Regions from separate parts of the Homo sapiens genome. Here all the other regions are linked to region 1. Evidence: promoter capture Hi-C in human tissues and cell types (Jung and others, 2019). All regions are on one chromosome and are shown on one strand. The core of a region is centred on a gene start or on the middle of the fragment in contact, and the rest is flanking DNA. Distances in the headings are between cores, read along the strand shown. Region 1 holds the start of SNX30 (sorting nexin family member 30). Region 2 overlaps SUSD1 (sushi domain containing 1). Region 3 has its middle 25 kb from the start of LINC02977. Region 4 overlaps UGCG (UDP-glucose ceramide glucosyltransferase). Region 5 overlaps SUSD1 (sushi domain containing 1).

Region 1 (4,801 bases), core at 1,494-3,993:
CTGAGACACGAGAATCACTTTGACCAGGGAGGTGGAGGTTGCAGTGAGTCAGGATCAGGCCACTGCGCTCCAGCCTGGGTGACAGAGTAAGTCTCTGCTCAAAAAAATACATATATATTCAATAATTAATAATGCCTTCAAGACTCTCCCTCCTACACAGAACAGACCCTTTAAAGGAAGCCATCGGTAATTAGACTTGAGACTGACTTCTTCACCACTAACCAGATCTTGGTGGTACGGGGAATTTGTCTTCCAAGTGCTTATTAGTAAAATGCTCATACTTCTGAGTCAGGTATCATCCATGAGTGAATCGTTAGGTAAATATTTTAAATGGCTATCTGTAGTAGCCAGTCTCCAAGATGGCCCAATGATCCCCACCTCTTGGTATACACACCCTGATATTCACACCCTCTCCCCACATTGTACCAGTGTCAATCTGTGTGACCAACAGAATACAGCAGAGGCATGTCATTTCCAAGATAAGTTATACAAGACTGGCTAGAGTCTTGAGCTCTCTTGGATCACTTGCTCTGGGGGGAAAAACCAGTTGCCACATCAAACAGCCCTATGGAGAGTAACTAAGACCTGCCAACAGCCATGTGAGTGAGCTTAGAAGTGGATCCTCCCCTAATCCAGCCTTCAGATGACTGCAGCCCAAGCCAACAACTTGACTGCAACCTCAAGAAAGGCCTAATTCAGAACCACTCAGATTGTCCCACAGACACTATTTCCAGGTGATAAGTTTTGGGGTAATTTGCTACACAGCAATAGATAATTAATTCAGTGTCCCACACAGAACTGAGAAGGAAATGAGGTTTAACCCCCAGTTCCTACACTATTTTAAGACCAATTTTTGTCGATAAGAAAGCAAATTTATTCAGTTATTCAACATTTTTTGGAGACAGGGTCTCACTCTCTTGCCCAGGCTGGAGTACAGCGGTGCAATCATAGCTCACTGCAGCCTTGAACTCCCAGGCTCAAGCAATCCTCCCGCCTCAGCCTCCTGAGTAGCCTGGATTACAGGTGCATGCCACCATGCTGTGTGCGTATGTGGAAACGGGGTCTCGATATGTTGCCCAGGCTGGTCTCAAACTTTTGGTTCAGAGCAATCATCCCACTTCAGCCTCCCAAAGTGCTGGTATTACAGGTGTGAGCCACTGCACCTGGCCTCCATTAGCTTTTTTAATTTTCCTGTTCCTAATGCTTTGGAACTTCACTCCCTGCTTTCACAAACCCTCTGCAGAAGGTACATCAAGTCGCACTCTCTAGTGATTTTAAGTGCTCAGTGACCTTCTGACTGCAAGGAGGGCAGGTTATATTTTCTCATACTCCTTTTTCACTGTACCACATGGTGTCCCCTCTAACGGGAGAAGAAAGTTAGGTCCCCTGCTCCCATTAATATTGGGACAAGGGGGAATTCATTTAGTATTTTACTAGGGAGAGAAAATCTTGATCACAAGACCTGAGAACAATTCTAATTTCTGCAGTTAGTGACTAAGTGACGGCAGGAGCGGGGATACAATCACTGCTCAAGTCTCCTTCACAGCTGAAATGGCCATGGGGGTAGGGAGGAGGTCGTCCCTTACCCCTGCCTGGACTCTGCTGTCTCTCCAAGCAGCAGGAGGGTTGTGCTGCTCTAAGAAAATCTGGAGCCTCCCTCCGTACAAAGAAGGTCAAAGGGCGAGCTTTCTTTCCATCAACCACAAAACCAGCCTCTGCCAAACCTAAACAGAGTGGTAGGCCGTCGGAGGTGAATGGAGCCCCAGACAGAAAACCACAACGAGGCTCTCCTCCCGCCGCCGGCTGGGGTCTGAGTCAGGTGACTCCTCAGGACAAACAGCAAACCTAAACAAAGATCACTCCCCACATGACTGACTAGGGGGAAGAAGACTCTCGCTGTAAGCCCAGGGCTGCCCGGTCCCAGCACGGAAAGCCAGGAACTCCTGCTTTCTGTGCAGTCTCGGAAACTGGAGGAGCTACAAGTTATGCAGCAGCTCAGCCTGCAGGGATGCACCTGGAGGAACTCGGAACCCCATCCGAGGACACAGGCGCCCTGCCCTGAACACACGCCTCCCGCTCCAACACGCAGGCTGGACCCCTCCCCACCAGCTGTCACCGGTGCTTGCGACCAGTCACAGGCAGCGAAGCCTGTCCCTCTGCGGCTGCGACCCCGCGGAGGCGGCAGAGGAGACGCTTCGCCGAGGGCTCCGGGGCCAGGACACGCCCGTCCCCCGGGAAGGGGCGGCAGGGTGGGCGCGGCCCCAGGCCCACGAAGGCTCCGGATCCATCATCCCCCCCACGGGGAGCGAAATAAGCCTCCCACTCCCCGGCCCCAGGCGCCCCACCTTGTCACCGAAGCTGCGGGCCATCAGCAGGTCCGGGCTGGGCGTGCTGTCACCACCCACGGCCTCCTCGCTGCTGGAGCCGGCCAGCGGGTGCGGCATGTCGCGCAGGGAGTGGGGCCCCGTGGACGGCAGGGCCTTGGGGGGCCCGCCCGCCATGGCGCGCACCGCTCGGGACGCGCCGCCGCCGCTTCCTCCTGCTGCCCGCCGCGGCGAGCTCCCCGAGCACCCCGGGCCGAGCCCCGCTCGGCCGCCGCTTAACCCGAGGCCTTGCACCGGCCGTGCTGGGGGCCGCCGCCACCCGCCGGCTGGTCTCTGCCGGCGCTCAGACGCTCCGCTCCGCGCCGCGCGCCCCCGCTCCGCGCCCGAGCCCGCCGCGGGTCCGCTGGCAGCACGGCCGCGGCGCCCAGCCCACACAGCCACACCGCCCACCCGCTCCGGCCCCGCCCCCGAGGCGCCGCGGCCGCCCGGGAGGGGGCGGGGAGGGCGGGGAAGGGGCACGTGGGGAAGGAAGGACGGAGGGAGGGAGGGAGGAGGCGCGGCCCCGCCCCCGCCCGGCAGGAAGTGCGCCCTGGGCCTCTGCGGCTGTCCTCCCAGTGTCCAACGTTGCCTCGCGGAGGCCGCCGTGCGGAGCAAATGTCTAACGGAAATCAGAGGTGGAAAAGAGGTTGGAGGAGCCTGTTCCGTTCCACCCGCGTTTACTGATGCGCCCACCAGCAGCCACGCTTGGGGCTGGGGGCTTTGAGGACACGCACGTGAGTCAGGGTCTTCTGGCCTCTAAGGCACGCGCAGGAAGAACCCTAGATAGACGGAATTACGACCCATATCGGAAGAATAGCATAAAGGGCGACAAGGCTCAAATGAGCTAGAGGACATCGGGTGGGGAACCTGGAAGGGACTTCAAAGAGGCGGTGTGGGGAGTCTTCAGGCTCACTCTGAGGTCCCCATTGTGGCTTGCTTCTGCAGCTGAGCTGGATTTGTGTAAAGTCAAACCTCAGAACAGCGAGCATGAGTAGAGAGTCTCAAATGATATGCGACTCTTCAACTCACACTTTGGCCGAAGAGACTTTTGAAAGAACCATGAGGTTCAAGTTATTCTTCATGCATTTGTGCTTCCTTTCCAGGCCTTGGGCTGAGCTGATTCTCAGCTTTATTTGCTGGCGTGGTGCAAATAGTCAAGGTGTTACTTCCAGCCCTTTGGGGTGTAGGTTCACCTCCTTTTTCCACCTTACCTGTCCCTAGATCTTCTGTTTCCAAGGCCAAGTCTTTAAAGGGTTTTCAGTCCCTCTAGCAAAGTAATGGGTAGGGAGGCTCATCGTGAGGGACCACATTTTCCCTACCCATTCCAAACTCAAAGGTTTGCCTAGCCTTACCTGCTAAAAGGTGATGACAGATGTTGACTCTGGGATTCACTAAGGCCTCTACCACAGTTTTCTCTAGAAACAAATAGAAGAGAATGCAGAGGGTTGAAATCTACCCAAAATATCAGTCAGAGACTCTGAGCTTCAAAGACCTTCCCCTATTTCCCCCAATGTAATTTATATAGGGTTGGACCCTTAGTCCTCAAGCTATCATCTTTATCTCCTCCACATAAGCCTGCCTTGGCTGGGAAAAGTAGCATTCAAAGGGCACTGGGAACAATTTTAAATGCTGCATCTAAGGAATGCCAAGTTCTGGTCCTCTTGGAGTTGGATTAAAATTGTTAACACTTTCACATTCAAGGGCTGCTTACAACTACTACAGACCCTATTATCTGTTCTTCTGAATTAGCATGAAAATGAATAGCACAATATAACTAGAAATGAGTATTTCTAGAAATGAGTATATACATCTATAGATGTATAACATCGGTTTTTCTTATTGAATGGTGCTACTTATTTTAACAACCAGGCTGCCTTAAATATAATGGACATCCGTATGGATTAAGACTCTATACAAGCTTTCTCTTTAGTACACCAGGGGAAAGTGAAAAAAGAACCACATTTGAATTCGGCTTTGTCACTACAAGTGGGTGACCATGAGCAAGTTACTAACCTCAGTGAACCTGTTCCTAACCTAAAAAGGAGGAGAATGGAGAGCAGGTAATAATACCTTATGAGATGGTTGTGAGAGTTATATAGCATTCTTTATGTCATAGTCCTAGCAAAGTGCTGGCATAAAATAGGTGCTCCCTAAATGTTAATTACCTACCTTCCTTTCCCTTTCTGTCAGATTTTCTCTACTATTCTTATGAAATAATAAAGAGTTTTTGTAATTAAATATGCTTTACTATTCTGAGTAGGGTCTGGTTGAATATACATATATATACACACACATACACACCAGGTAGGGTGCCTCACACCTGTAATCCCAGCACTTTGGGAGGCCAAGGTGGGAGGATCACTTGAGCCCATAAGTTCAAGACCAGCTTGGGCAACATAGTGAGAGCCCCATCTCTATAAAAAATGTAAAAATTAGTC
Region 2 (4,763 bases), core at 1,972-4,471, 610 kb after region 1:
GATTGGGTCCCAAGACATAGATGAGTGTGAAGTTTCTGGCCTGTGCAGGCATGGAGGGCGATGCGTGAACACTCATGGGAGCTTTGAATGCTACTGTATGGATGGATACTTGCCAAGGAATGGACCTGAACCTTTCCACCCGACCACCGATGCCACATCATGCACAGGTGGGTTTCTGCCAAAAATTGCGGCATCTCAACGTGAAATTCTGTTGATGGTGACTTTCTTCTGCTCCAAGCCTGTGTTGGGGAGGCAGGTGGAGGTGATCTGATCCTTTGCACATTTTGTACAACCTATGACATAAAGCAAATAACAACAATCAAGTTACAGGGGGCCATGTTAAAAAAGCTAAAATTAGGCCAGGAGCAGTAGCTCTGTAATCTCAGCACTTTGGGAGGCCGAGGCTGGTGGATCACTTGAGGTCAGGAGTTCGAGACCAGCCTGGCCAACACGGTGAAACCCTATCTCTACTAAAAATAAAAAAAAATAGCCAGGTGTGGTGGTGGGCACCTGTAATCCCAGCTACTCAGGAGGCTGAGGCATGAGAATTTCTTGAACCCAGGAGACAGAGGTTGCAATGAGCCGAGATCATGCCATTGCACTCCAGCCTGGACAACAGAGTGAGATCTCTGTCTTAAAAAAAAAAAAAAAAAAAAAAAAAAAAAAAAAAAAAAAAGCTAAAATTCATAAACTTAAAGGATTTTTATTAGCAGTTAATAGATATTCCGATATTAACTACTATGTTAGATAGTAAATGCCAATGATTTGGTAAGGTCCCTGCATCTCAAAAGTGACCCTGAAAATAATCAAGGTACATATATCTTAAGGTATTTTGCAATTCAGATTTTTTATTTCACTGGACAAGGCTTCTCTTTAGTTAGTGTAAATTAGTGAGGGTTGATTGCTAAGTTATTTCAGCTTTGTGCATGTATAGATGCTTTACCTATGGAAGGCCAAAAGATTGAATAAAGACAATTGTTGGAAATGTTCCCAGAAGTCATGTGGGAATGAACCAGTGTACTTAAAATATGGCTCGGGGGTGTGTGTGTGTGAGGAATAGGGTAGAGGTGGAGAGAGATTGTGAATTTTGAAGATTTACATTCACGAGGTAATGAATTTGACATTAATTTATTTTCAGAAATAGACTGTGGTACCCCTCCTGAGGTTCCAGATGGCTATATCATAGGAAATTATACGTCTAGTCTGGGCAGCCAGGTTCGTTATGCTTGCAGAGAAGGATTCTTCAGTGTTCCAGAAGATACAGTTTCAAGCTGCACAGGCCTGGGCACATGGGAGTCCCCAAAATTACATTGCCAAGGTGAGTTTTCAAAAAATACAGGTTCCCAATTCATACCACCTTGAAACTGTTTTCATATTTTTCTCTAAATTTCAGTTTCAGGGAATAAATGAGTTAAGTAAACCTTTAAAATTCCTATTTGTTTCTCATAGATTTTCAGGTGATTTTCTTGATTTTTCAGGAATAGTATCATATCATCTGCAAATCATAATTCCATTCATAAATTTTTCTTTCTTTATAATAGTTATGTTTTTCTCTTGATTGATCACTTTGTATTTTTAGAACAAAGACTTAAATGGTAGTGTTGCCTTTGAATATTATTTTTTTATTCCTGACTATTAGGGAAATGGTTTGGGTGTTTCTTCATTCCTGATGTTAGTTTTTTGATGTTAGGTGTATATATATATATATATTCCCAGAAGTCATGTGGGAATGAACATATATATATACATATATATACACACACATATATGTATATATATACATATATATATAAAAACGTCATGTGGGAATAACATATATTATATATAATATACAATATATACAATATATGTAATATATTACATGTAATGTATTATATATTATATATTACATGTAATATATATTATATATAATACATTACATGTAATATATTATATATTTTTTATATATATATATAGTTTTTGAGACAGAATCTCGCTTTGTCACCCAGTCTGCAGTGTAGTGGCACAACCTTGGCTCACTGCAACCTCTGCCTCCTGGGTTCAAGCGATTCTCATGACTCATCCACTCGAGTAGCTGGGATTACAGGCACCCACCACTACACCCGGCTAATTTTTGTGTTTTTAGTAAAGATGGGGTTTCACCGTGTTGGCCAGGCTAGTCTTGAACTCCTGACCTTAAGTTATCTGCCCGTGTTGGCCTCCCACAGTGCTGGGATTACAGGTGTGAGCCACTGCGCCTGGCTGATATTTGGCATATCTAATCATGTCTACTCATATGGCACTGTGTGCCAAGTATTATTTTAAGCACTTTATATATGATGATGGACCACATTGTAGTGGTCCCATAAGATCATAATGAGACTGAAAAATTCCTATTGCCTAGTGACATCGTAGCCATCATAATGTTGTAGTGCATCACACTCACGTGTTTGTGGCATTGCTGGTGTAAACAAACTTACTGCTCTGCCAGCAAGTACATTACTGTATGTATATTACTGTATGTACATTACTATACATAAAAGTGTACAGTAATGTCCTAGGCCTTCACATTCACTCACTATTCACTCACTGACTCACCCAGACCAACTTCCAGTCCTGCAAGCTCCATTCATGGTAAGTGCCCTATTACAGGTGTATCATTTTTTTATCTTTTATTCTGTATTTTTACTGTATCATTTCTATATTTAGATATATAAGTACTTCTTATTGTGTTATAGTTGCCTACAGTAATCAGTATAGTAACATGCTGTGTGAATTTGTAGCCTAGGAGCAATAGGTATACCATACAGCCTAAGTGAGTAGCAGGCTCTACTATCTAGGTTTGTGTAAGTACACTCTGTGACTTCACACAATGAAGGAATTGCCTAATGATGCATTTCTCAAAATGTATGCAGATTGTTAAATGATGCATGACTGTAATTTGTTTAAGGTCACACAACTAGAGACAGAGCTGAACTTGAACCCAGGAATTCTAGTTTCAGAATTATTTTCAGCCACTTTGTTTTGCTGCTTCTGCTTTTATGGTGACACTGGCTTTTGGTTAGTTTTTTAAAAATTTTGGCTTTCTGTTTCTTTTTCCTTTTCCTTTTTCCTTTCTTTTCTTTTCTTTTTTCTTTTTTTTTTTGAGACAGAGTCTTGCTCTGCCACCCAGACTCGAGTGCACTGGTGCTCCTGGGCTCAAGCCATCCTCCCACCTCAGCCTCCTGAGTAACTGGACTACAGGCACGAACTACCATGCCTGGACAATTTTTGTATTTTTTTTTTTTTTGGAGACGGAGTCTCGCTCTGTCGCCCAGGCCGGACTGCGGACTGCAGTGGCGCAATCTCGGCTCACGGCAAGCTCCGCTTCCCGGGTTCACGCCATTCTCCTGCCTCAGCCTCCCCAGTAGCTGGGACTACAGGCGCCCGCCACCGCGCCCGGCTAATTTTTTGTATTTTTGGTAGAGACGGGGTTTCACCTTGTTAGCCAGGATGGTCTCGATCTCCTGACCTCATGATCCACCCGCCTCGGCCTCCCAAAGTGCTGGGATTACAGGCGTGAGCCACCGCGCCCGGCCCCAATTTTTGTATTTTTTATAGAGATGGGGTTTCGCCATGTTGCCCAGGCTGGTCTTGAACTCCTGGGTTCAAGTGATCTGCCTGTCTCTGCCTCCCACAGTGCTGGGATTCCAGGCATGAGCCACCACACTTGACCTGGTTTTCTGTTTCTCTGTCTACAAATATTATCATTTTATGTGCCTGTTTCCATCTGAAAAGTGAAAAAAAATTTTTTTAATTACCATTTTTCTAGTTTTTGGCTATATGTCCATAATCTAAAGGAAACATCAATCTATTCCCACTGTTTAGGAATTTCTTTTTTTTTTAATTGGAAATAAGTTATTTTTATCATGTCTTTTAGGCAGGTGATTATATATTTTTTTTCTTCTTTTAAATAACGATGTGGCCAGATGCAGTGGCTCATGTCTGTAATTCCAGCACTCTGGGAGGCCCAGGCAGGCAGATAGCTTGAGCCCAGGAGTTCAAGACCAGCCTGGGAGTGGTGGTGCATGCCTATAGTCCCAGCTACTTGGGAGGCTGAGGTGGGAGGACCACTTGAGCCTGTGAGGTTGAGGCTGCAGTGAGCCATGATCACACCCTGCCCTCCAGCCTGGGTGACAGAGCAAGATCCTATCTCATAAAGAAAAAATAATAATAATAATGTGTGGGTTATATTGTTAGATTTCCTGATAATGATCAGTACTAATTGCTGGAATGAATTAATCTGGGTTTTTGGTGTTTTATTCCTTTCATTTGGATTATATTTGCTAAATTTTACTTATAAATCTTGCATTGATATTCATAAGTGAAATTGCTCTATTTTCTTTTCCTGTGCCATCTTTGTTCAGTTCGGTATTAATGTTATTCTGAATTTTAAAAAAAAGAATGTAAAAATTTCCTTCTTTCTCTATTTCTGGAATACTACAAATAGAATTTTTAAAGATTTGGGAGATTTCACCTATAAAACCATCTGGATGTGGCACTATTGGAGAGGTAGCCCTTGGACTATTTGGACTACTTTTAAATTCTTCCTATACTTGCTGGTATATCTAATCATGTCCATTCTTTTTCTTTCCCTCTTAAGATCAATTTTGGTAAATTATGTATTTCTAGAAAATCATTTACTTCATCCAGATTTTCCAATTTATTTGTGCATGCAAAGAAGTGTAAAGCCTTCTAATTTGCTGTGGTTATATTTGTTTATAACTATTTATTGTAGTGAAATA
Region 3 (5,052 bases), core at 2,485-4,984, 740 kb after region 1:
GTATAGTGGTGTGCACCTGTAGTCTTAGCTACTCAGGAGGCTGATGTGGGAGGATCAATTGAGCCTGGGAGGCTGAGGCTGCAGTGAGCTGTGATCATGCCACTACACTCCAGCCTGGGCGACAGAGCTTTCAAAAAAAGGAGCAAAGGGGACAGAGATATAAATAGACAAAAAAAAAAAAAGGTGGGGGGAAGGGGGCAGAGATATAAATAGACCATTTATAGAAAAGGAAATCCAACTCTCCAATAAATGTGGAAGACGGAGGAATAAAAATTAAGGTAATTATGAAATGCCTTTTGGCAGAACGTAAAACAGCAGTGATGATGTGGTAGGAATATGAATTTTTATAGTCTTTAGAAAGGCAATCGGTCTCATCATCTCTGAAAATCAAAAGCATACTTAGCTTTGGCCTTGAAATCTCACCTGATAACCAACCGTCAAGAAAATAACAACACCAGTATGTAAGCATACATATACAAGGATCTTTACTGCAACTATGCTTGTCTGAAATGTCAGAGAGAACTGTGCATGGGGTCTGTCACTTAGATTTGGGGAGCTGGGTCCAGAGAAAACCCTTACAGACAACATACTCTTTTCTAAGTTGATCCTCGTCTTATTATTTATTAATCAGCTCCTCTTTGTCCTTGCTTCTTTTTCTCTTATTGTATGTTTGCAAATAGTGATATGAATATTAAAAAATCTCTCACTTTGATTATATTTTTGTCATTTCCCCCTTATTTCCAGAAGTTTTTATTTTCTATATGTTGATGTCATGTTATTTGATGCATAAAAGATAACAGCTCTTAAATATCAATTATAAAGTATGTGTCTTCTAAAAATTTAATTATTTTCCCTGAATTCATCTAAAATAACAACCACAATCCTCACTTTTTAGTTTGCATTTTCCTCATATATATCTGTCCATCTTTTTATTATTCTGTGCCACTTTTGTGTTCTTATGTAATCAATCACATTTTAAATTCTACTTATGGTTTCCTTTAAGATTTTTAAAAGCATTATTTAAGTTATAATTCTCTATTTGTCAATGATGGGATTTAAAAAGAAGAATTTGTGGCTGGGTGCTGTGGCTCATGCCTGTAATCCCAGCATTTTGGGAGGCTGAGGCAGGCGGATCACCTGAGGTCAAGAGTTGGAGACCAGCCTGACCAACATGGTAAAACCCTGTCTATACTAAAAATACAAAAAATTAGCTAGGCGTGGTGGCGGGCGCCTGTAATCCCAGCTACTCTGGAGGCTGAGGCAGGAGAATTGCTTGAACCCGGGAGGCAGAGGTTGCAGTGAGCCAAGATCGCACGCACCACTGCACTTCAGCCTGGGCAACAAGAGCGAGACTCCATCTCCAAAATAAAAATAAAAATAAATATAAATAAAAAGGAGAATTTGCTTTCCTTATTTAATATGAGGCATTTAGAAAGCATTTGCTCCCTTTGCTTTTGAAAGAGCACTTGAAACAGCAATTCTGGATGAACCCTGCATGTGGCAGTGGTCTTCATTTTTGTGGTATGAAGGTGTTTCTTATTAATCTACAGGGTGGAAGGAGGGCAGGAAATTAGGCTACTTAGCTGCATGCTCTCTCATTCCAGGGAGAACCATCTTTACTGCTTTTGGTCTCAGGTCTCTCACTGTAGCAACCAGTCTGGTAGATTTGTGACTCTTTGGCAAAGTAGACAGGACAAGATAGGGGTTAAGAGCGTGATCTCTGGGGTCCCTCCACTAAGGTTGCACCCTGACTTCATCACTTACCAGTTGGGTGGCTTTGGATGATTCACCTAACATGTTTTGCTTCCTCATCTGAATAAATTGGGATGGCAATAGCATAATTCCAAAGGATGATTTTGAGGTTTAAATTATATAATCCATACTCCTGGCACATAGTAAATGCTCATTAAATGCTAACTGCTCTTTTTATTTTTATCATCATCATCATCATCATCATCTATGAAAGGGGATTGATGAATTTATAGAATCATTTCTGCCAGAGCCCAACAAAGTGGCATAACAATGTTTGCTCTCTCCTGCCCTAGAACTTTCTGCTCACAATGTTTCCACAGACCAAACACACGCTAGCTAATAATAGGACAATCACAGATCAGTTAATGAAGAGTACGTGTATTATCGACAGAGTGGAAACTGAGACTTTGTTCTGTTTACTCATTCCCCTTATATATCATAAAGGTCAAGTTCTAACCACCTCCAGAAATAAGGTGCTCCGTGCAGAGCCCTCTTTCCCTAATCTCTCTATAGCTCATCTTCCCTCTTCCTTCTACAGCCCTCTCAGAAGTCTCCACATTTCCCAGTTCTCACTTCAAATTTCCTGGAAAACTCAGCCTCGTTCTAGGGGAGATAGAAGTTGTGCCCCTGGGAACTTCAAAATGCAAATTTAACTTCACCTGACTGCTAGTGCAGGCATCCTCTGCTCAGACCATCAGCTTCAAAGAGAGGAAGGGACCCTGGCCCATCAGTCGGGGTAGATGATGAATTCCCCTCTGGATTAATTTTCCCTCCAACAACAGCCATGGCTGATTCAGTCTCACAAGTTCCTTACGCAGCAAACTCACTTCATCATGGAGCTGAGGAATTGGCAAACTTCTTCTGGCAAGAGCCAGATAATAAATATTTTCGATTTTGTAGGCCAGGTGTTCTCTGTTGTAAGTCCTCAAGTCTGCCATGTTGCACAAAAGTAGCCACAGATGATACCTAAATGAATGGGTGTGGCTGTGTCTCAATAACTTTATTTATGGACACTGAAATGTGAATTTCATATGATTTTCATGTCATGAAATATTATTCTGCTGATTTTCTCCTCAATCATGTAAAAGTATAAAAACCATTCTTAGCTTGCGAGCACACCAAAACAGCTGGCAAACTGGAATTGGCCCATAGGCTGTTTGTTCACTGACACAGATACAGCCACATCACTAAGCGGTGTTTGGTCCTGCCTTGCTGACCTTTTTCAGTATCCTACTTGTGGGGGCCACAGCCCTGGTGGTCTCATAACCATACCCAGTCCTTCCCTCCTACCTGCCAAGCTTTCTGCTCAGTTCTTGTCTTTTGACTGAAGAGTACAAAATTATTCTCCTTTATTTTATTCTTTATGGATTTAGTTTTTATATATGTCATGGTAAGAACGGTTGATATGGTGAGAATATATTCTCTTCCCAATTATTCCAGCACAATAGCACCAATGTTTATTATATTGAATGGAAGTTTTCTTCCTGGGAAATCTGTGATGGCTTTTAAAGAAGTCTTATATTGGTCAGGCGCGGTGGCTCCTGCCTGCAATCCCAGCACTTTGGGAGGCCGAGGTGGGTGGATCACTGGAGGTTAGGAGTTTGAGACCAACCTGGCCAATGTGGCGAAACCCTATCTCCACTAAAAATACAAAAATTAGCCGGATGTGATGGCAGGCACCTGTAATCCCAGCTAGTCGGGAGGCTGAGGCGGGAGAATCGCTTGAACCCAGAAGGCAGAGGTTTCAGTGAGCCGAGATCACGCCACTGCACTCCAGTCTGGGCAACAGAGTGAAGCTCTGTCTCAAAAAACAAACAAACAAACAAAACAAAACAAACAGAAAAACCCTTATATTGAGTATTAGGATCTGTTTCTGGGCTAATTTGTCTCTCCTATTAATCTCTGCCAAATCCTGTGTGTTCAACTTTGATTTTATTCTTATAGTTTTATGATATTGTATGAAACTATATCCCATAGTTCTATAATTTTATAATTTTAATAGAGAGCAGAGCTAGTTTTCCCTGTTGGGCTTTTAGTTTTCAAAATTGTTTAGCTATTTGAAGCAGAATTCAGACTGACTCCTTCTATACCATCCAAATCCCTCTCCTCTTCCTCACTAGGGGCTGAAGAAGCTGAACACTCAAGTTCCCAATCTCCTTTGTTGCTCTGGGCAGACAGAAAGTACAGTTCCAGTTAATTAAGCAGAAGTGAGGTCTACTAGGGGAGTTTCTGGGAAAGTTTTTACTTCGCTGATACCGTGAACAACTGTGGCTGTTCCTTCTTTTTCCCCCTCTTTCTGTCTTGAAAGCAGATGTATGCTAACCATCTTGAACTTAAGAACCATTTTGTCAAGTTAAAAAAAAAAGTGAAGGCCGGGTATGGTGGCTCATACCTGTAATCCTAGTGCTTTGGAAGGCCAAGGTGGAAGGATTGCTGGAGCCCAGGAGCTGCAGGCTGGAGTGAGTTATGACTGCACCATTGCACTCCAGCCTGGGTGACAGAGCAAGATCCTGTCTCTAAAAAAAAAAAAAAAAAGAAATTAAGTCAGTTAAGCCAGGCGGCTTTGTACAGCTCTGTGGAATGACAGAACTTATAAAATGTCCTTTCTCTAGAGCTGTGGGGAAAATGAGGCAAATACTGTATGGGCAACCTCCTGAATGTGTTTCATTTATTCATCTATAATAGCAGGGCTTGGATAAATCTTTCCTATATGCTATGTGTGGGGCTAAGAAATGACCTTATTGTCAAAGGTTGATGAATGCACAGATACAGGGTAAGAAGCCAATCTGGAATGATGGTTTCCATTTTCCACTTGAGAGTTTAAGCCTGGGCAGCAGATACCTGCTCTGTGAACTCTTTACATGAGCAACTTCCCAGCACAAATTGTTCTCATTTCCCAGGCTCACATGTCCACCAGTCCCTACTTTCTGAGGATGACTTTTTCTGTCTCAGATTCCCTTGTGTAGGGAACATTCTCTTCCAGTGAACCTGGCTACCCCACTGGAGCTTGTGGCTGTAGGAGACATGCTTGGAGCCAGTTGTTACTACAGGGGCCTGAGATAAGCCAAGGGTACCAGATGACTGTGAATTACAGGCACTGTTGAGTGTGTGCTTTGAGACCAGAAAGAGGAAAGCTTTTTACTCAAAGCAGAAGTAAAACAGGCTTTTGTGGGGGAAGTGGAAATTAGCTGGTAGGAGTTCTTTGTACCACACATATAAAAATAGGAGTGCTCCTGGAGAGGAGTGCAGCTGGCAGGGACCTGTGGTTGGTCAAAGTGATCAGCAACGTTGCTTGCAAGC
Region 4 (4,663 bases), core at 1,387-3,886, 840 kb after region 1:
ATGGATACATATAACCCTGGGGTTACTTTTTAAAATTCTTTCAGTAGGGCATGGTGGCTCATGTCTGTAATCCCAGCACTTTGGGAGGCTGAGGTGGGGGGATTGCTTGAGCCCAAGAGTTCAAGACCAGCCCCGGCAACATGGCAACACCCTCTACAAAAAATACAAAAATCAGCCAGGTGTGGTAGCACATGCCCATAGTCCCAGCTACCAGGGAGGGTGAGGTGGGAGGACTGGTTGAGCCTGGGAGGCTGAGGCTGCAGTGAGCCACGACTGTGCCACTATGCTCCAGCCTAGGTGACAAAGCAAGATACTGTCTTAAAAACAAAAACGAACACAAAAAACCATTCTTTCTACAACTAAACCCCTCACTGACTTCCTCAAGCATTTAAACCCCATGACTATCATCTCACAAGCACTACAACGTAAAAATTCCATGACCAATTTTAAGAGTGGTTGAATGGGGAAAGTGAAAGAGGATGGTTAAAAAACTGAAATGTGAGATTAAGTTTCACAATGATAATGCATATGACTCTAAGCTATGCTCTAAGATTCATTCATAATCAATAGAAAATTTCTTTCATTCGTAAACATTAATTCTCCTTTGCATTTACTTTTATGGAGCTTGAAAATCTCCCATTTTTCTTACTGCAAAGCTTATTTTACAATTAATTTTATTTATATCTTTCTCAATTACAAAAGGCTAAGTTTTACCATTTTTTAGTTTGAAAAAACAAGTATATACAATTATATCTTATTTAAAAATTATATATTTGATTGAAGTTAACACATGTATTTAATTCAAATATCTAAAATTATTAAGCATATAAACACACACAAACTAGAACATATAATTTTTTTGCTTCAAAACAGCTTCCAATACTCCAAAATTGGCTTCTAAACTCCAAAACTCCAAAGCAATAATATAAAAACACTAAAAATACAACTGAATGATACTCATGTCTACCTACTTAATAAGTGCTGCATTAAGGCTATCACATCTGTGTCTTCTCTATTCTTTTCATTGGTGCTACCGAGAAAAATAAAGGCTAAAAGAAAAGAAATAAGAGCATGAAAACCAGTCACCATAAGAAGTGTAGTGCGCATATCATCTTCCTTCTGATTATTTGAGCTACCCTGTCCAAAAAAATTAAGAGGGACGACTCTCCCAGTAGCAAAAACAGCTATGGAAAAACTGAGGCAATAGGGTAAAAATTGAGGCAAGTGAATAGAGACCGCAAAGGGAAAACTAAACTGTACTGAAAGTCAAGTGGGTAGAAGCTTAAAGACACATTCTTCTCACAAGTGATCTGTTACCACCAAAATGCCCTTTCAAAAGCAGTCTCAAGCAATTTAATACAAAGCTGCTGTAAAGCTAAGTACAAAAATCAAAGAATATTAAGTTATCCTAAGAAACTACAGGTGGACTACTAAAGCAAAGTGATAAAAAGAATACTTTCATCTCAAGAAAACTGGAAGGTCTCCAATTAAGGGAGTACACTGAGTTTACAGATATACAGATTATATAGATAAATGGTATAAGCAATACAATTAGCTATTAAAATCAGAACAGTAAGGAAATTAAAAATGAGGTAAGATGAAACCCTACAGTACCACTAACTGTAATCTATTCTTGGCTCAAAGCCAGTTTCTCCGGAGAAGTCACGTTTAGTTCTGGCTGTACTGCAACCCATTTCAGACCACTAACACTGCTTTCTCCCTCTCCTTGTCTCCTCTTCCTATTGTTCATATCCAGCTCTTATGGAAGAAAATTTTTATTTTCAAACTACCAGGCACTTGACAATGTCTGAGTTTCAGAAGGTTTACTCAGGGATCTCTACTTCACACGGACATATAGGTGGTTAGAAAGGGAATTTACACCCCTTCCTCAACCTATTTCTGTTCTGTGATGACTACTACTAAAGGTTATATTTTATGAGGCCAATATCATCATGAATTTTTAATACCTTCACCTTATACAGTGTTAAAATCCCTAAATGTTTATCATGAGGGGAACAAAACAAAACAAAACAAAACAAAAAACCGTAACACTGAACTTACTTTGGGATAATCCAATTCAAAGAATGTTTCCAGGTTGTTGATTAAGTTAGGATCTACCCCTTTCAGTGGTTTCAGAAGAGAGACACCTGGGAGCTTGCTATAAGGCTGTTTGTCAGTTGCCTTCTTGTTGAGGTGTAATCGGCTAAAAAGCAAATGATATAAAAATTATTTCTATAGAATACATTAGTGTCAAATCAAAGCACTGACAAGCTATCAATAAATCCCTAAATTCTAAGTTAAGATTTTTAAAACTTGACATCTTTCTAAAAGAGGATCTAAACATGAAGGGAAGTAGAACCAGGTAAGCATGGCTTTGAATGCGGTCCAACACAAATTCATAAACTTTCTTAAAACATTATGAGATTTTTTGCGATTTTTTAAAGCTCATCAGCTATTGTTAGTGTATTTTATATGTGACCCAAGACAATTCTTCTTCTTCCAATACGACCAAGGGAAGCCAAAAGATTGAATACCCATGATGTACTACTCTCTGACTATTGCTATACTCACAGAACTATGCCAGGCATAGCGCAGGCATTTCAATAAAATACATGGTGAAGAAATGAATGGCAGTGTTAGCCCAAAGATTAACTCCTCTTCCTCTTAAATTGCCACTGAAGTGGCCACAGAACTATAAAAACAGGTAAAATAAAACACCGTCTGCAGCAGAAAATTATGAAAGGATAACCAGAACTTTCTGAGAAATTTCTTTGCAGTGGGATAATACACAGTTAAAAGAAGTGTCAAGCAGTCTGCATGGCAAGCAAGATAATGGGACAACTGGAACTCCCAATATTAATAAGGTCAGAATGGCAGGGGTAGAACAGAAGGAAACTGAAAGTAAGAAAAAAACTCAATGATGAGAAAAATGTCTATTAATGACACTGGAAGATATACCAGTGCCACCAGTTCATAGATAAGTGACCAAATGGCCAACGTTCTCACTGCTTGTCCATTGCAAGGATGCTGCAGCACAGCAGGGCTCCTAATGAAAGAAGCAATGCCACACAGGTGTGGTGGCTCACACCTGTGTAATCCCAGCACTTTGGGAGGCTGAGGCGGGTGGATCACTTGAGGTCAGGAGTTCGAGACCAGCCTGGCCAACACACTGAAACTCCATCTCTACTAAAAAAAAAAAAAAAAAAAATTAGCTGGGCGTGGTGGTGGGTGCCTATAATCCCAGCTACTCGGGAGGCTGAGGCAGAAGAATCACTTGAACCCGGGGGTGGAGGTTGCAGTGAGCCAAGATTGTGCCGCTGCACTCCAGCCTGGGTGACAGAGTGAGACTCCGTCTCAAAAAAAAGAAAGAAGCAATGCTAGAGAAGACAGAACGTGCCCCAGTTAACATCAGGCTGTTGCAACAAGATGCCATTCAATACAGTGGTGAAGTTTCTAAAGGAAGCCACTGAAGCCTTCCTCCTACTTCTAGTAAATATGTGACAAGTACTTCTCATAAACAAGTCTCCAAGCATTCGACAGTAATTAGGCACTAGAACATCATGGGTCCATCTGCAAGATATTCTAAGACACATGTTCTTCCACATTTTAACATCTCTGACATCAATGGTACCTTACAATTGCTGCCAGGCAGATGGCAGCTCTGACTTACTGTGAAAATCAACCAATGAGAACTTCTAGATGATCAAAAAATACTTGCATCAATGCATCTTGATTTGATAAAATCCACTATTAAACTGGGAAAGACTTCTGGAGGGACACCGGTACCACCACCCAGACCACTTAGCCATGGGCTTGGTCTCTAACTAAGGCAGGTGTGTGCTGTAGCAAACATCTAACGTTTTAGATAAGGCCATACAGTTTTACACACACGTGCACACACGCACACACACACACACACCAGGTTTACAATGGAAAAACTTTAAAACCAACAAGAAATTTAAAGAACAGGGTGGTATCAATTTCTGATACACCAAGTACCAGAAAATACTGGAGCACCATCTATCGCAGTGCTACTCAAAGTGTGGTCTGGTCCAGCATTGCTTTTTACTGGTTTGCAAGTGAGAAACAATTGAGTGAAACCTTTTAGAAACTTGTATAGCAATTTAACATTGCCATGACATCAAGCATGTGATCAGCAATTTATTTTTATTGTAGTTTACCAAAGTATTGGCTCATGGCAGATTGGAATTTTTTTTTTTTTATTTTTTTAAGACAGAGTTTTGCTCTGCGACCCAGGCTGGAGTGCAGTGGTGCGATCTCAGCTACTGCAACCTTCGCCTCCCGGGTTCAAATGATTCCCCTGCCTCAGCCTCCCAAGTAGCTGGGATTACAGGCATGCACCACCATGCCCAGCTAACTTTTTGTATTTTTAGTAGACACAGGGTTTCACCATGTTGGCCAGGCTGGTCTCGAACTCTTCATCTTAAGTGATCTGCCCGCCTCGGCTTCCCAAAGTGCTGGGATTACAGGTGTGAACCACTACAGCCAGCCAGATTGGATAATTTTAAAGAACAACTGCTTTGCCATAGATAGTTTGGAAAATATTGCTCTACAGAGTTCATCTGGAGGACCAGACAGGTAAAACCACGATCTAAAACGCATATAACCACAAAAGTAATCACTATTCTATTTCTAACAAAAT
Region 5 (5,072 bases), core at 2,333-4,832, 630 kb after region 1:
GTCTGTTTTTCTTACCTCAGAGAGTGTTGAAAAGGAATCGAATAAGATAATCTGTGGGGCGCATTTTAGAAAGCTGAAAGCACCATGCACATGTTAGTCTTTTTCCTAAAGTTGTTAGCCTCATGTGAAGATCTTCTCATGAATCAGAAGCGTGTACTTCTACATGATTCATTTCACACCTCTGCCTCTGAGGAACAAGGTGAGAAAAGGCAATGATTCTTACCATTTGTGGTGGTTGATCAGAAGGTATGACAAATGGTTGTCACATAGTCCCTGGGAATATATTTCTGGCTGTTGACTTGCTTGGCTCTGAAGACAGGTCTCTGAAGAGTGAAATCTCCAGGAGCTTTGATCTGGGTCTCTGGTTTGACTAGCAGCAGAATTGTGGTCTTGCCCACCAACATTTTCCATCGGAAATTCTGGCCAGAGCAAACAAGACATGTAGGCCCCTGGGGATTATTTGTCCATAGAGCAGTGGTTCATAACGATGTTGGGGATGGGAATTTGAGGAAATCTGTCCATTCATTCAATAGATATCTATTTAGCATACACTATTTGTCAGGTACTTTGTCGGCATGACCCTCTTGGAATTTACAGTGCAACAGGGGAAACAGACCTTTTCCCCAAAGGTATGCACATACACATACACATATAATGTTTTACAAGTAGCAAGGTGTTCCTGGACCTCTGAAATCCTTGAGTAAAGCATTCTTGGGATAGATGGAAAGCTCACCTCTGCTGTTGAGGCCCTGTATGTGCCATGCAATTCCTATATTTGGTTATCTCCATCGCGAATTCAAGAGGATGTAGGCCAGAGACTGCAATCAGAAAAACAAAGAAGGGTAGAGCTGGATAAGAACCCAGAGATACAATGCAGTCTTCTCTTAGAGAGGTCTCATTGACTTGCCCAGCCTGCACAGAGGAGCAAGGGCAAACGTGTAACTGACACCAAAGACTCTAGGGGGGTCCAGTCTTAATAATTGGAGCTAATGCCACGCTGGACTAGACTGATGGTCACTCCAACCTATCATGGCATTTGCAAAAGCATCTCCAAGAGTTATTTGGAGGAGGTGAGGTAGCTGCCTCCTGGAATGCTGAATTCAATGTTTGGGGAAGTATTCCCGACACAGAACAACTGCTGGAGTCACTTGGTAAGAGCTGGGTATAGCTTGTGAGCCTCAGCCATTTGCTTCATTGCTCAAGCTGCTCTGCCTCCAACATTCAGCAGTCAATGGGGGTATAAGAATTAGTCACCGCATGAAAAACCAGTGGATCTGCATGGGGCATAGTAAGCTATTAATTAGCTGATGCTTGTAGAGCACTTTGAAGAACAAACATGTTATGTAACTGCTAATTATAATTACCATCCTCAGCCTGCTACCTTTCACAAAGTCTGTGGCTCCAGCTGCAGCTGTTTCCATGGGTTTATGCAAGCTTTGATTTAAGAAAAGAAAAGGCATTCTCCCTGAGAGCTGTGATCTTTCTGTGAGGAGGCCTTTATGCCCTCAATCAGGATTGGCAGCTAAATTCAATTTCCGCAGATAAAGGGGATGATTTACATGCTGATTAATTCATGGTACAGTGCAGATGATCTCTGGGTGGGTAGGTAGGAGAGGCTTCTGGTAATGTAGTGAGAGCTGCTGATTACCATGGCTCTTGCTCAGCTACCCCTCTTCTTTTTTCTTTTCCCTGTTTTTCACTTGTTACCTATTTCTTCACTCCCCTCATCCCAACTGTCTCTGTGTATTTTGTTGTTGTTGTTGGAGATGGAGTCTCACTCTGTCACCCAGGTTGAAGTGCAGTGATCACAGCTCACCACAGCCTCCAACTCCTGGGCTCAAGCGATCCTTCTGCCTCAGCCTCCCAAGCAGCTGGGACTACAGACATGACCCACCACGCATGGCTAAATTTTAAAAATGTTTTTTGTAGAGACGGGTGTCTCACTATGTTGCCCAGGCCGGTCTCAAACTGCTAGCCTCAAGCCATCCTCCTGCCTCTGTGTATTTTATATTTCCCTGTCTTCGTGTTCACGTTTGGCTTCCCCTCTCATCTTTTTCTACTTTTCTGCTTCTCTCTGAATGCCTCCTACCTCTGTCCTGTTTTCACTGTTCATCTTCCTGTTTAGTTCCAAACTGGGTAGAATAATTTATCTTTACCTGGGTTGTTTGTAAGGAAGCCACTAGTCTTTGGGATTAGTAGCACAAATCGTATGTGCTTTTAATGGGGTGTGAGCTCTATCAAGCTGGTGGGACTTATTTTTTCCTGCCCCCTCCTTCCCCGCCAGGCCAGTTTGGACTGGAAACTCCAGACAGCTGGGAATTAGGCAATCACTTTCGTGTCTGGAAAAACCCCAGGTGGAAGCTTGATGTTAATGAGTCGGTTTACCTCAAGATCAAAGAGACTGATTCATTCTTGATAAGACTTTCCCTGGCTTCCATTCTGCACAGGCCATTTGGCTTTTCATGTTTAGAATCTGAGTTAATGATTATAAGGCTGACGCTCACTCACTCCACGCTCTCAGAAGGGTAACATCTCTGCTGGAACAGAGGCTGTTTATCGCTAGGATCCTTTCTGTGCCTCTAAACTGCTCTGGGCACTGCTCTGATGCCTCCAGGACTCCTGTTGGCCTCTGTCCCTTCTGTTTGGCTGGTGACCCTCTTCTCCAGCCCACTGGGTGCTCAGTTGCAGCCACACACATTTCAGATGGAACAGAAAGGTCAGCCGGAATAAATGGATACATTTACATAAATAGCCACATGGCCGGATGTATTGGAATATGTGAATGAGGTTTGGACCATCAAGCATTATAGCTACTGCTGGCTGAGCATGAACGTACACACCCAGGGCTCAGCTAGGGACCTTAATGCTCGATTTCATTTCATCCTCTTAAAACCCTTTTGAAGTAAGCTTTGTTATTTTCATTTCATAGATAAGTAATCTGAGACTCATAAAGGTTAAGTGACTTTTACATGGTCACTCAATAATTAGCAAATGGTAGAGCCAGGATTTGAACTGAGGCCTGTAAGCCCAGAAAGACCACATTCTTTCTCCTACATCAGTGTCTTCCAAGCTTGAATTATTTGTATACCACCCTGACACAATGTTTGCCATAATAAGAGTATTATTTACTTAGAGTGTTTCCTTAAACAACCTAACCTTAAATTTATAATTCAAATTTATTAAGGACAATATATGTGATCTCATGAGTTTGATGAAGTAGGTGTATTTTTCTGATATACACAAAAACTGATACATAACGAACAGATAAAAATGTATTCCTGGCTGGGCGCGGTGGCTCACGCCTGTAATCCCAGCACTTTGGGAGGCCGAGAAGGGTGGATCACCTGAGGTCAGGAATTTGAGACCAGCCTGGCCAACATGGTGAAACCCCGTCTCTACTAAAGATACAAAAATTAGCTGGGTGTGGTGGCACGCGTCTGTAGTCCCAGCTACTCGGGAGGCTGAGGCTGGAGGATCACTTGAACTCAGGAGGCGGAGGTTGCAGTCAGCTGAGAACATGCCACTGCACTCCATCCTGGGCTACAGCGCAAGACTCCGTCTCCAAAAAAGAAAAAAAGTATTCGCGTGCCACCAAAAATCATCCCAAAGTGTGCAATATATTTTACACTAACGTACTCTAAGCCATGCTACTCCTACTTATTTTATGTGAATCTAAGACTTCAAAGAAAGAAAGGAAACACATGAAAACTTTTATAGCCAAACATACATTTATTCAAGTAGGCACTGTGGGAAGCCATACCCTGATTTCTGTGGTGCTGCCATTATCATCATGTGTTTGCCTTGGAATCCTATTTGATAATGTCCTTTGGAGGTAGTTTATGAGCCGTATTAGAAGATCAGTTACATTCCTTTTGAAATCAGATGCTGTTTTGACTAGAAATGATGCTGAGCTTGCTTGACCATCTGTTTGGGTCACCTGGATTTATTCTCTATGACCTTTTGCTGTTTCCAAAAATAAAGAAAAAGGATATAAAATTGGAAACCAAGGGAGTACACTAGACCAGCCCCTGTCCTTGCACAGTGGGACTTCTGAAAGAGTAGTCTGGGCTCACTGTCTTATTCCCTCCCCTCCTATGCTCTTCTCAGCCTACTGGGGGGAAACCAGGCATCGAACACCCCCACTTCACTGTAGCATCTCACCAAGGTGACTGATGACTACCTAACTGCCAATTTCATGTTCCAGTTTCAGCTGTCATTCTTCTCAACCTTTCCACAACATTTAGCATTGTTGATCCTTTATCCATCCATTCAACCAGTTCAACCAAATAATACATAGTTTTTAGTATCTATATTTAAGGCACTGTGCTAGGGCCTGAGGATAGAGAGAGAAACATGGTCTTTGCCATCGTAAAGTTACATTCAGGAGAGGTGGTCATTATATAATGACTTACGTATTTAGTTACAAGTGTGTTAAGTACCACATACAGAAATACTAGATGCTAACAAAATACCAAAATACATAACATTATGTACATCTATATCTATATATACATAACATATATATGTACCTGTGTGTACACACACACACATAGAGTAAAGCAAAACAAAGGCTCTTACTTTATCACTCACTGAGACTTTCTCTCCCCAAATCCAGTGAGACTTCAGCTGGACACTGTGGGGGCCTCCTTCTTTTAAGCCAGAGAGGCCTCTGTGTTCTACAACTGGGCAGGCTGAGGGCCTGCTCTTCCCACCTCTACCCAAAGTCAAACCACAGATCTAATCCTGATGCCGTGGGCACTCCATGAGGGGAGAAAAGCCATGTGAGAGGAGAGAGGGAGATGGAGTTTGCACCCTCTGCCTTGACCTGCTCCAGGCCCTTCTTGGCTAGGGGATGAGGAGGCTGTGGGAGACTGGTGGGAAAGAAGGCTGATAATTTTCTTAAAAGAATTTATTTTTATTTTTTAGGGACAGAGTCTTGTTGTATCACCCAGGCTGGAGTGCAGTGGCACGATCTCAGCTCACTGCAACCTCCGCCTCCCAAGTTCAAGTGATTCTCGTGCCTCGGCCTCTTGAGTAGCTGGGATTACAGGTGTGCACCACCACACCTGGCT

What was found. Contacts are between HindIII fragments. The study calls those that stand out against the background at their distance.
Region 2: a contact is called between a fragment that was not itself captured here and the fragment with the promoter of SNX30 in region 1, in 1 of the 25 tissues and cell types used here (IMR-90 fibroblasts).
Region 3: a fragment that was not itself captured here is called in contact with the fragment with the promoter of SNX30 in region 1 in 2 of the 25 tissues and cell types used here (adrenal gland and mesendoderm cells).
Region 4: a fragment that was not itself captured here is called in contact with the fragment with the promoter of SNX30 in region 1 in 2 of the 25 tissues and cell types used here (IMR-90 fibroblasts and lymphoblastoid cells).
Region 5: a fragment that was not itself captured here is called in contact with the fragment with the promoter of SNX30 in region 1 in 1 of the 25 tissues and cell types used here (IMR-90 fibroblasts).

Annotation. Positions count from the first base shown.
Region 1 is chr9:112,748,702-112,753,502 of GRCh38, reverse strand. It overlaps SNX30 (sorting nexin family member 30), which reads right to left and starts at 2,743. Exons shown (of 9, transcript NM_001012994.2): 1 at 2,346-2,743. The coding sequence starts at 2,501. It overlaps SNX30-DT (SNX30 divergent transcript), which reads left to right and starts at 2,938. Exons shown (of 1, transcript NR_186503.1): 1 at 2,938-4,619. RefSeq lists enhancers at 1,055-1,974, 1,975-2,896 and a silencer at 2,166-2,985. The HindIII fragment of the contact is 10,773 bases long and covers 1-4,801 here.
Region 2 is chr9:112,138,875-112,143,637 of GRCh38, reverse strand. It overlaps SUSD1 (sushi domain containing 1), which reads left to right. Exons shown (of 17, transcript NM_022486.5): 4 at 15-167; 5 at 1,139-1,318. Among named protein-coding and RNA genes, the nearest start is that of SUSD1, 34 kb to the left of the region's middle. The HindIII fragment of the contact is 5,677 bases long and covers 383-4,763 here.
Region 3 is chr9:112,012,428-112,017,479 of GRCh38, reverse strand. No RefSeq gene overlaps it. Among named protein-coding and RNA genes, the nearest start is that of LINC02977, 25 kb to the left of the region's middle. RefSeq lists enhancers at 4,520-4,759, 4,800-4,849. The HindIII fragment of the contact is 6,094 bases long and covers 688-5,052 here.
Region 4 is chr9:111,912,145-111,916,807 of GRCh38, reverse strand. UGCG (UDP-glucose ceramide glucosyltransferase) reads right to left here. Exons shown (of 9, transcript NM_003358.3): 2 at 2,062-2,203. Among named protein-coding and RNA genes, the nearest start is that of MIR4668, 18 kb to the left of the region's middle. The HindIII fragment of the contact is 3,334 bases long and covers 970-4,303 here.
Region 5 is chr9:112,116,993-112,122,064 of GRCh38, reverse strand. The region is part of intron 6 of SUSD1 (sushi domain containing 1); the gene reads left to right. Among named protein-coding and RNA genes, the nearest start is that of SUSD1, 56 kb to the left of the region's middle. RefSeq lists an enhancer at 1,000-1,571. The HindIII fragment of the contact is 3,368 bases long and covers 1,899-5,072 here.